2 separate regions of the Homo sapiens genome follow, and region 1 is linked to region 2. The links are contacts of gene promoters, found by promoter capture Hi-C in human tissues and cell types (Jung and others, 2019). All regions are on one chromosome and are shown on one strand. The core of a region is centred on a gene start or on the middle of the fragment in contact, and the rest is flanking DNA. Distances in the headings are between cores, read along the strand shown.

The links. The method cuts DNA at HindIII sites, captures the fragments that hold promoters and counts their contacts. A contact is called where the count stands out against the background at its distance.
Region 1: a fragment that was not itself captured here is called in contact with the fragment with the promoter of CHRNA5 in region 2 in 2 of the 25 tissues and cell types used here (dorsolateral prefrontal cortex and spleen).

The regions. Positions count from the first base shown.
Region 1 is chr15:78,891,288-78,896,341 of GRCh38, reverse strand. MORF4L1 (mortality factor 4 like 1) reads right to left here. Exons shown (of 12, transcript NM_006791.4): 7 at 4,770-4,858; 8 at 4,029-4,130; 9 at 2,715-2,803; 10 at 2,112-2,284; 11 at 1,438-1,522. Among named protein-coding and RNA genes, the nearest start is that of MORF4L1, 21 kb to the right of the region's middle. The HindIII fragment of the contact is 8,549 bases long and covers 1-5,054 here.
Region 2 is chr15:78,562,069-78,567,139 of GRCh38, reverse strand. It overlaps CHRNA5 (cholinergic receptor nicotinic alpha 5 subunit), which reads right to left and starts at 1,620. Exons shown (of 6, transcript NM_000745.4): 1 at 1,315-1,620. The coding sequence starts at 1,420. RefSeq lists a silencer at 1,333-1,422 and an enhancer at 2,233-2,422. The HindIII fragment of the contact is 8,456 bases long and covers 1-4,755 here.

The DNA.
Region 1 (5,054 bases), core at 1,852-4,351, 330 kb before region 2:
ACTCCATCTCAAAAAAAAAAAAAAAAAAAAAAAGAAAAGAAAAGAAAAAAGAAAAAAATCCTATCAGGCCAAGCACAGTTGCTTACACCTGTAATCACAGCACTTTGGGGGGCCGAGGCACAAAAATTTGAGGCCAGGAGTTCAAGATCAGCCTGGCCAACATGGCAAAACCCCATCTCTACTAAAAATACAAACATCAGTCAGGCATGGTGGTGTGCACCTGTAATCCCAGCTACTTGGGAGGCTGAGGCCCAAGAATCGTTTGAACCCAAGAGGCGGAGGTTGTAGTGAGCTGTGATCGCATCACTGCACTCCAGCCTGGGCGACAGAGCAAGACTCCATCTCTAAATGAATAAACTTTTTTTTTTTAATTACATAAAAGGGAACGTGAAATGTCAAGTAGTAGAGCACATTCCATAAAGAAACTGAGGTCCAAAGAAGGTATTTATCATTAGTAAAGAAAAGATGATAAATCTTGCCTACATTCTCAAGTCCACGTTGCAGTTTTAAATTTACTGTAAAACGATTGTAATGAGAAAATTCATATACAGAAGTATACAAAGTAGAAACTGAAAACTCCCACCCTCCCTTCCAACACCACGCCCAAGAAATAACCCAGTATTAACTAAGATCCACATTGGAAAGCCAGATCTTATGCAAAGATTAAAATAATGTTTCTCTACAAGTAACAATTACACCATACTCCTCTACTACAGCTTGGCTGTTTTTCAATTGAAAACATGGACATCTTTATCAGTATGTTTAGAGTGACCTCACCCTTTTAATAAGTGCTTGTTTCAAATTCTTCACTATTATAAAAATGCCCTCCAAAAACTTGTAGAAACCAGGATTGCCCTTTTCTCCATTTCTTCAAACATTTAAACCTTAGCCAATCTGACAAGTGCTACTTTACTGACAGTTTATACTTTCATCATTATTTCTGACATATTTTTAATGGTCCTTTGTGCTGCCATTGATGTAAATTTCCTGTCCTACTTTTCACTGGTTTGTTCATTTCTTACCGAAGAACTCTGTGTGTATTAAAGGTACCAACCATTTATCATAAATGGAACACTATAGAACTATGAAAATATTACATTTCTCCTTTCATTATCTTAACAATTTAATTTTAAACTTCAGATTCATCTAGAATTTTGGTACATGACAAGTGTGGCTTTGTTTTCTTCCAAACTGTCAGCTGTCTTATCACCAATCTACCAGACTCCACTGCTTTCCCCTACTGCACCAATATATCATCTATATACCATCTATCATTTCTGAGACTCCCATGTGTTTGCACTTACTTTTACTGCTCCATTACCAACTATCTATGCCTGTACCAATATAATGTTTAATGTTTTAGCATCTATACTGCCAATCCCTCCCATTACACGCTAATTTTCAAATCCATGTTTATAATTTCAAGCACAGACTTACTTTAGGAAATCGTGAAGATAATTGAGTAATAAAGCAAGGCTCTTCTCATCCAGAGGTGTATAAGCCAACATTGCTCCAATTCGTACTGTTTAAACAAGAGAATTTATCCAAAGTTACATCCAAGGCAGGGGCACTACAACCATGTATTTTAATTATGTGAGCAAACACCACCAATTCCTTTAAAATACATGATTTTAGGCCGGGCATAGTGGCTCACGCCTGTAATCCCAGCACTTTGGGAGGCCGAGATAGGCGATCGCTTGAGGTCAGGTATTCAAGACCACCCTGGCGAACGTGGTGAAACCCCATCTCTACAGAAAATACAAAAATTACCACAGATGTGGTGGTGCACACCTGTGATCCCAGCTACTTGGGAGGCTGAGGCAGGAGAATTGTTGAACCCAGGAGGCGGAGGTTGCAGTGAGCAAAGATCGCACCACTGCACTCCAGCCTGGGCAACAGAGACTGTCTGTCTCAAAAAAAAAAAATTATAAAATAAAATACACGATTTTTAAAACTCTTGCTCCTAAAGAGATTTTGCTATTTAACATTCTAGATAAAAGTTCAAATTAAAATGGGAGTCATGTTTTGGAAAGTTAATTACTTTACCTCTTATTCATTTAGAGAAGACCCCCCAAAAAGTAAAATCCATTATTTTCTACATGACATATTACCAAATAATCTCAGGAGATGTGGCGCTCCATACACCTGGGACATGGGTGCATCGGGATGATCTGCAAGAATTTCAGCATACTGTGGTCTCTCAAATTTATAGAGTAGCTGGGTACCCAACATTACGTTGAAGTATTCTTTTATCCCTGCCACAACTTCATTAACCGCATACTCCCTGATAAATGAACAAAAATATTCCAAAACTGGTCAATAAAAATAACTGACATAGAGAATAATTCAACCAATTTAAAGAATTAAAAGCTGAGCTAGTAATAATGAACCATAGCTGAGATTTTTTTAAAGGGCATATGAAAGCAGGGTTTGACAAACTAAAGCAATTAAGATGATTCTTACATTTTCAGATGGTTAAATTTTAAATGGTTATGCAAATACCTACATGATAGCTTAAATTTTACCTAAAATATTTACTATCTGGCCCTTTAAGAAAAAGTCAGCCAGCCAACTCCTGTGTCAAAGCAGTGAAATTCTATTTTGCTAGTTTCTGGTGGTATTAATGTTTCGGAGTCAGTACAAGTTTCAGATGACTTATTTAGAAACTTTTTTAAATGTCTTTTGAGTGTCATCTGAAAAATGTATATTCTTACTTATTATCTGTGTTTCCACGAGATTTCTTGTAATTTGCATAATCCTCAAGAATGGAATCCACATTCTTCTTGGCAGGAAGATAAAAGAGCTATGAAGACAAAAATATGCTTAAATATAAGCACTCTCTTTTTTAAAGAAAAATCATACCAGGCAAGTTTTTATACAAAGATCAGGTAACAGTAACAGTATTTCAAATTAGGAAAGATACTATTCAGCACTTAAAACATGGATAATGTGGCTGAGAAACTACAGACAGTTCCCAACTTACAATGGTTTGGACTTAATTTTCCAACTCTCTGCTGGGTTTATTGCGATGTAACCCCATTCTAAGTTATGGAGCATCTATATATTTAAACAGCCAAATGAGACTCTACTAGACAGAACAGCACAGCTTTTAAAAATGTCAATCTGTCACACACACATAACAGACACGAATGTGCCTTTGTGGTACTACCAAGTCATCATTTACTGTTATGCATACTATTTGCTAGATCTAGTCTAAAGCATTAAAATAATTATCTTTTCGTCCTCTCATCAGCATTGTCAAATACAAACTATTATTCCATTAAATGCAAAAACAGAAGCACAAAAAGGCTAAGAAACTTGTCCAAACTCACAAATAATAAGTGATACAGCCATGCTTGAATCTTCGCAGTTTAGCTGTAACTGCATAACCCTCCAAAGGATTCAAATCAGAATTCAAACTATATCCACATACTGTATATGACTGATAGGTCTCTTAAGTCTCATAATCCTCAAGCAGTCCCTAATCATCTCCCCCAACTATCCCTAACCCTACCTATGCCATTTGTTCAAATAGCTTCATTTGTCCTATAAAATTCTCAATTATAGAGTTCAACGATTGACAAACATGTCACTCCATTAAACATCCTATTTCCTGCAAACTAACAATAGATCCAGGCGCTTAGTAAGATTCAGGTTCTTTTCAGGGTCATGAATACCTTGCAGGTGGTGGTGTGTGCTTTCTATGGCCTACCATTAGCAATGACAGTAAGACATATGCTTCTTCACCTTTATGAATTTTCAGAACGAGTTCCTGCCCTAGCAATCTCCAAAAATGAGTTATTTCCACCTTTATCATTATAACCTCATAAAATTTATATGTGAACTTTTATTCTTCTAACTTACTCTTTCTGGTAGTAGTTCTAAAGTGTTCAGCCTCTAAATTAAAATATTATTTTATCAGTCATACCTTAATAATTCAAGTCAATATAACATTTTCCTTTAAAAACTTTTTTTGCTAGCAAGAATGTATCATATAGCTTAACAATCTGGGTAGCTTTTCAAGTTACCTGTTTTTGCCTGGTAATTAAGTCCCAGTCATCAACAAGCCACGGTTTTAGCTCTTCAGGAATCTTTACTTTAACTTCAACTCTGTTCATGAATGTTTCCTCCTAAACAGAAACAGGAGGAGTATTAAAAACCTAACCTTTCTTGCTAAATACCAAACATGGAGGGGAGCTGACTTTTAGAGGCACTAGGGATAAATCTTAAAGTAGCCAAGCATACAGCTGTACTGTCATTTTTTAAAATCATTAATAAAAACGACCATACGCGGTTCGCTGTTGGGAGAAAAGAATCTGACCTGAACTATAGTCTATTTAGTGCATTTTCTTGTAAAGGTAAAAATTCTTCAGTAAGGTTCCTCTTGTTCAGGAAATGAAACACCCTGACTTGATACATTTTAACTTAGTATTTTCTTATTTACCATGGATATCAAAACTATTCCAAACACAACCATCTTAAAGGTACATCTTTAACTCCTAAAAATAAATACGTAACACCAAAGAAATAGTCTTGTAGGTGAACATGAAGCTTACACAACAAATGATCAATTGGGTAGGTAAATCTGGAGCTACAGGTGAAATAAAGATATACAGAAATTTATCCTTTACCCCCAAAAGAGAAAATTTTTAATTTCAGGTATTAACCATGTAAGCAAATCTTGTAGATAATCAAAGCTCCCATGGTTATGTCATGTAACTGAGACTAAAAATCCTAACATGCTATTCATAAACACAAGAAAAACTCACATTTTCAACAGTAGGATCTACCCGGGCCCTTTTCTTCCGAGGAGGCTGAGGGGTCTCACTGGTACTGCCACCATCTCCATTTCCAGGTGCTGTAAATGTTGGCGGGGAGGGGTCTCATTTAGCTAATTTAACAAACTCTATAAGGAAAATAGTCTCTTGACACATTAACCCTTTTCATTATTTCTCCATTACACAGCTGTTACCTCAATCTAAGTTAAAGAATCATATTCCTACCAAAAATACAACTTTCATGAAGAGCTCTACCGAACATTTAGTATAGACAAC
Region 2 (5,071 bases), core at 371-2,870:
CTGGGACTACAGGCGCGCACCACCACGCCCGGCTAATTTTTTTGTATTTTTAGTAGAGACGGGGTTTCACTGTGTTAGCCAGGATGGTCTCGATCTCCTGACCTCGTGATCTGCCCGCCTCGGCCTCCCAAAGTGCTGGGATTACAGGCGTGAGCCACCGCGCCCGGCCCGCCATTTCTTAAAGAAGGAAAACAGCTGAGAGAAGTTCGTCCAGTCAGGATGCACCAGAGCCATAATTTGAATACAGGTTTGCCTGGCTCCAAAATCACATTCCTTTCTTTCTGTTTAACTCTCTCTGCCCAGGATTTTCTTCATTTGTTTAAATCACCCTCCATCTTATTTCTCTTCGGTCTACACTAAGCAATACATCCTGCAATGAATTATTCTAGTCTTATTACTTCCTAAAATCAGGAGCCATAGATTAAAAACCTTAACAAAGGAAAGGCAAGAAAAGGTTCTTGCAATATTTCCACTATTTAAGAAACTCACTCATAAAACCTGAAATACAGACGTAGTGAACTTCTGTAATCATATCTTGCTTAACGGATGCTTAGCTTTTCTACGTTTAGATCACACCATAGCTGCTCCACAAACGTGTTTTTCTTCAAGGTATTGAGAGAACTGACTCTAAAACTTTCCCAAGCACTTGAAACATGTAGGACTACGCGATTTCTTTTGTTGTTTCCATTCCTGTCCAAAACCTCTTGAAAAACAGCAGGCTGAAAAAAGCTGTGCTCTAAGGAGCTAGTGAGGAACTCTGGATGCAAACGATTAGCCCCGAAGCCAGGGAAGTTGGCCGCCTAGCCTGCTACAACACACACCTTTCATCTCCGGCGAAAGGAAAGGTTTTCAAATGCTGCGGTGGGTAGGGGACAGGGATGGAGGAAGAGGCGGCGGGCAGGAGGTGGAAGATAAGTCCCAACCCCTAGAATGAACCCCAGAGTCTCTATATCCCGTAAATGGGCAACAAAATGGGAAGCTTGGCTGCCACCAGGACAGGAAAGCCCTGCTGGACAAGAGTGGCATCTTTTACTGAAAAAGTTGTGTGGAAGTATACGCTAAGCCAGCCTCGTAGTCTCCAGCGATGCAGGTCGTGGAACAACAAAGAAAACCCACCCAAGTAGCCCTTTCTCTGCATTTAAATGAGCAAATCTGGACATTTAAACTGAAACCTCACTCCAAGCCCCCAGGAGAAAAAAACCCACCTCCCCTCGCAACCAGGTTTTCCGGCGGCCGTCGCCTGGCGGCTTCCTGGGCACCGCGATGTGGAGTCCGGGCCAGCTCCCGCCCCGCCCCTCTGCAGCCCGGGCTTACCTCTCTGCGCGCCGCCCGCCGCGCCCGCTAGACCGCAGCGCCCCGCGACCAGCTGGACCAAGAGCAGCAGGCGGAGCGCGCGGGGCCCTGACCCCCGCGCCGCCATCGCCCCGCGCCCGCGCGGGACCGCGGGCAGCCGCCTCTCGACCGCCGCGCGGGGAACGCGAACTCTTGGGGAATGGAGCACTGAGTGTGAGTCGTGAGACAAAACGAGGGCAGACGCAGCAGAGGGGCCGCTCCGCGCCACAGCTCCCGCCGGGACAGCAGCCTCAGCCTAGCAGCTTCTGGCGGGCTCGGGACGCATGTGGAAGCTCCCGGCGCCTAGCCCCGCCCCTATTTCCCTCTGGCCCCGCCCAATCCTCGCCTTGTTCCTTTTGGCCCAGTCCGGTCTATTCATAGCCCCGCCTCCGATCCCCACCAACCCTTTCCCCACCCCGCCCCGCCTCTGGTCCAACCCTGTCTGCTCCTAGCTCCTCTTTTTCCACGCCTGGCCCAGCCCCATCGCCCTGGCCCCCGCCTCCAGGCCTTCCTTTGGGCAGGTGCGACCCTGGAGCAGAGTTCCAGGAAGGCAAAGACTTGAGGCTGGCATCGCAGGCGCGTCCTTCTCTAACCACCGGATGTCCTTGGCCTAGTCACTGCACACCTTAAGATAACAGCTATTCATTGATGTCTGCTCTGTGCTCAGCACCAAAAGGGGAAGCAGAGGGACAGATTGCTCCCAGCTGATAGAAAATGTAAATAAAGTAATTCCGAGTTGTGATCAGAAAGAAACAAGCTGGAGGCTGGGGCAGAATCACAGTGGTGGGGGACTTGCTCCAGGCTGCAGCGCTCTCCATGGGCCCCGCTGCCCACTCAAGTCTTTCTCACCAGGAAGTACCAGTCGCAGCTTGACTGCCTCCTGGGGCTGTCGTGTCAGCCAAGGGGTCCCCACCAGGAGACCTGTGTTGTGGACCAGCGAGACAACCCTGGGCAAGTCACTTTCCTCTCTGGGCCTGTTTCCTCGTCTGGAAGCGAGGAACCGAGGCAGATAAACTAGAGGACTCGGGAAGGTACAGCTCTGACACTCACTCAAGCCATCCCCGGAAATGATATGCAGTCGCCTCAAACGTGGGCATCGCCCTCCGTGTTGTCATCAATTAACATTTGTAAATATTAGTGACTATCTGCTACAGACACTTAGCACCTCTGGTGGAGATTGGTGCCGACTGCTGGAAACCCGTCTCAAATCCCTCCAGACCCTATATTTCATCCTCTCTGTCCATAATTAGAAAGCTTCATTTGGCTGAAGGGATTCAGGCGAATTATCTTTAAACTTCAGTGGCAGAGGGAGCCGCTGACTCTTCACAGAACGCTTTATGGAGGTGACACCTCTAAGACTCATTGTGAGCAAAAATTTCACTCCACCCTCCAGACTAGTAAATCTGTGAAAAACTAAACCTGGTTGCAAAGAATCTAAACAGCAAAATTCAGTGAAGATGCTCTTCTTAGGTCCAAATACAGCTGGAAAAATGTAAATTACATCCAATGGAGCCAATCTGTTTAAACAGGACTTAAACAAAGGGGCCACAGAAAAGGGATGCACAAGATGTTAACCAGATTAGTAATTAATTGCACTTCTGCACAGAAATGAAAGACAGTACCTATCATCCTTTCACTGCAAATTTACATTTTACTCTGAAGAATTTATGGGACTTACAGGCACTTATGCAATTCATCCTAACAGTGTTTGGATGACTTTAAAATGTTATTCTGCTTTTACAGCTAACTGATTTGAAACAGAGGAGTTGAATAACTGCTGAAGGTCACAGTACCTGTCAGTGGCAAAACTAGAATGAAATGGTTGTCAGTGCAGCCACTGCAAGTATAATTGGAACTCCTAGATGTTATATCAATAATCATGAGAATGATGGTTATTTACATAATCTATGAAAAACACTATTAATTGTTGCTATTAAGTGAAAGGCAAAGCGTGACATTTGTTGGGCATTTTAAAATCCAAACAAATAATCAGAATATAATGTCTACATCTTACATGGTTTTTCCAGGGGGATACGCCAATTACTCATGGTTGCTGGATATGGTGCTACACCTGACTCTGATAACAGGCATCTTCACACTGCTAGGAGACATTAGCTGACCAAATGACAATGAAAATTGCTGCTGTTGCTGCAGCCACCACCTACAAAGTTCCCCTAAAGTGGCATCTATCTACCAACTTTCTGAGACTTAGCCAAAGGGACTATTACACAGTTCTTGCATCCCAGACACCACCTTTTCCTCTGAAGATTGTGGAATTTTTATTACACTTTCCTGTCTTCATTTATCCTTCCTTCTCCCCTCTTCTGAATATCCAAACCCACGCTTTCTTCAAGGCTCATTTCAAATGCCACCTGCCTTCTCTTTATCTATTTCTCCATAATTATGTTCTCTACTAGATAGTGGATTTCTCAGCCTAGAGGCTATGTCTTTTTTTTTTTTTTTTTTTTTTTTTTTTCCTAGTAGAGACAGGGCTTTACTCTTGCCCAGGCTGGAGTGTGTAGCAGTGTGATGATAGCTCACTGTGGCCTCAACCTCCAGGGCTCAAACTCAAGCGATCCTCCCTCCCCTGCCTATCAAGTAGCTGGGATTACAGGGGTGCACCCCTACAACCAGCTAATTTTTTTAGTTTTGATTTTTTTGTTTGTTTCTTTCTTTTTTTTTTTTTTTTGGTAGAGACAAGGTCTAACTATGCTGTCTAGGCTTGTCTCAAACTCCTGGGCTCAAGAGATCCTCCCACCTCGGCCTCCCAGAATGCTGGGATTAGGAGTGTGAACCACCATACCCAGCGGGGCTATGTCTTGTTCACCTTTATAATACCTACTTGCCAGTCAGTACCTTGCCATAGAAAGTAGAATTTAACAATTATCTTAACACTGCTAAGTAATGGGGACTGTAAGAATTTAAACACGTTTTAATATGCTAGTTCATTTAGTATCAATATTACAGGAGTGGTACTTTTATTATCCTTGTTTTGGCCAACACCTTCTCAGTTCTCTTGGCAGGTTCCTCCTCTTCTACCCAGGCTTTGCATGTTGGAAATTCCAGAGGCTCAAATCTGGGACCTATTCTGTCTCTGTAAACTTCCCCCCTCAGTGATCTTATTCACTTCCCTGGCTGTAAATACCATCCATATATTGATGATGACCAGATTCATACTCAGATAGGTGCTGATCTCACCTCTGAGCTCCAGTGTATTTGACTATGTACTTTACATCATAATCACTTAGTTATGTCACTTAAGATGTTCCAAACCATGTTATCCTCTTAGCCTTCCCATCTCAATCAATGATACCACCATCTGACTAATTACTCAAGCTAGAAAACTGGAAGTCATCCTGAGTTCCTCCCTCTGCTTCACCCACCGAGTCTAATTCAACTCTAAGTGCTATTTACCTGGAATTTATTTATTTATTTATTTATTTTTATGTATTTATTTTTAAGAAGGAGTTTCACTCTTGTTGCCCAGGCTGGAGTGCAATGGTGCGATGTCAACTCACTGCAACCTCTGCCTCCCAGGTTCAAGTGATTCTCCTGCCTCAGCCTCCCAAGTAGCTGAGATTACAAGCATGCGCCACCAGGCCCAGCTAATTTTGTATTTTTAGTAGAGATAGTGTTTCACCATGTTGGTCAGGCTGGTCTCGAACTCCAGGTGATCCACCTGCCTCAGCATCCCAAGGTGCTGGGATTACAGGTGTGAGCCACCGTGCCTGGCCAGCCT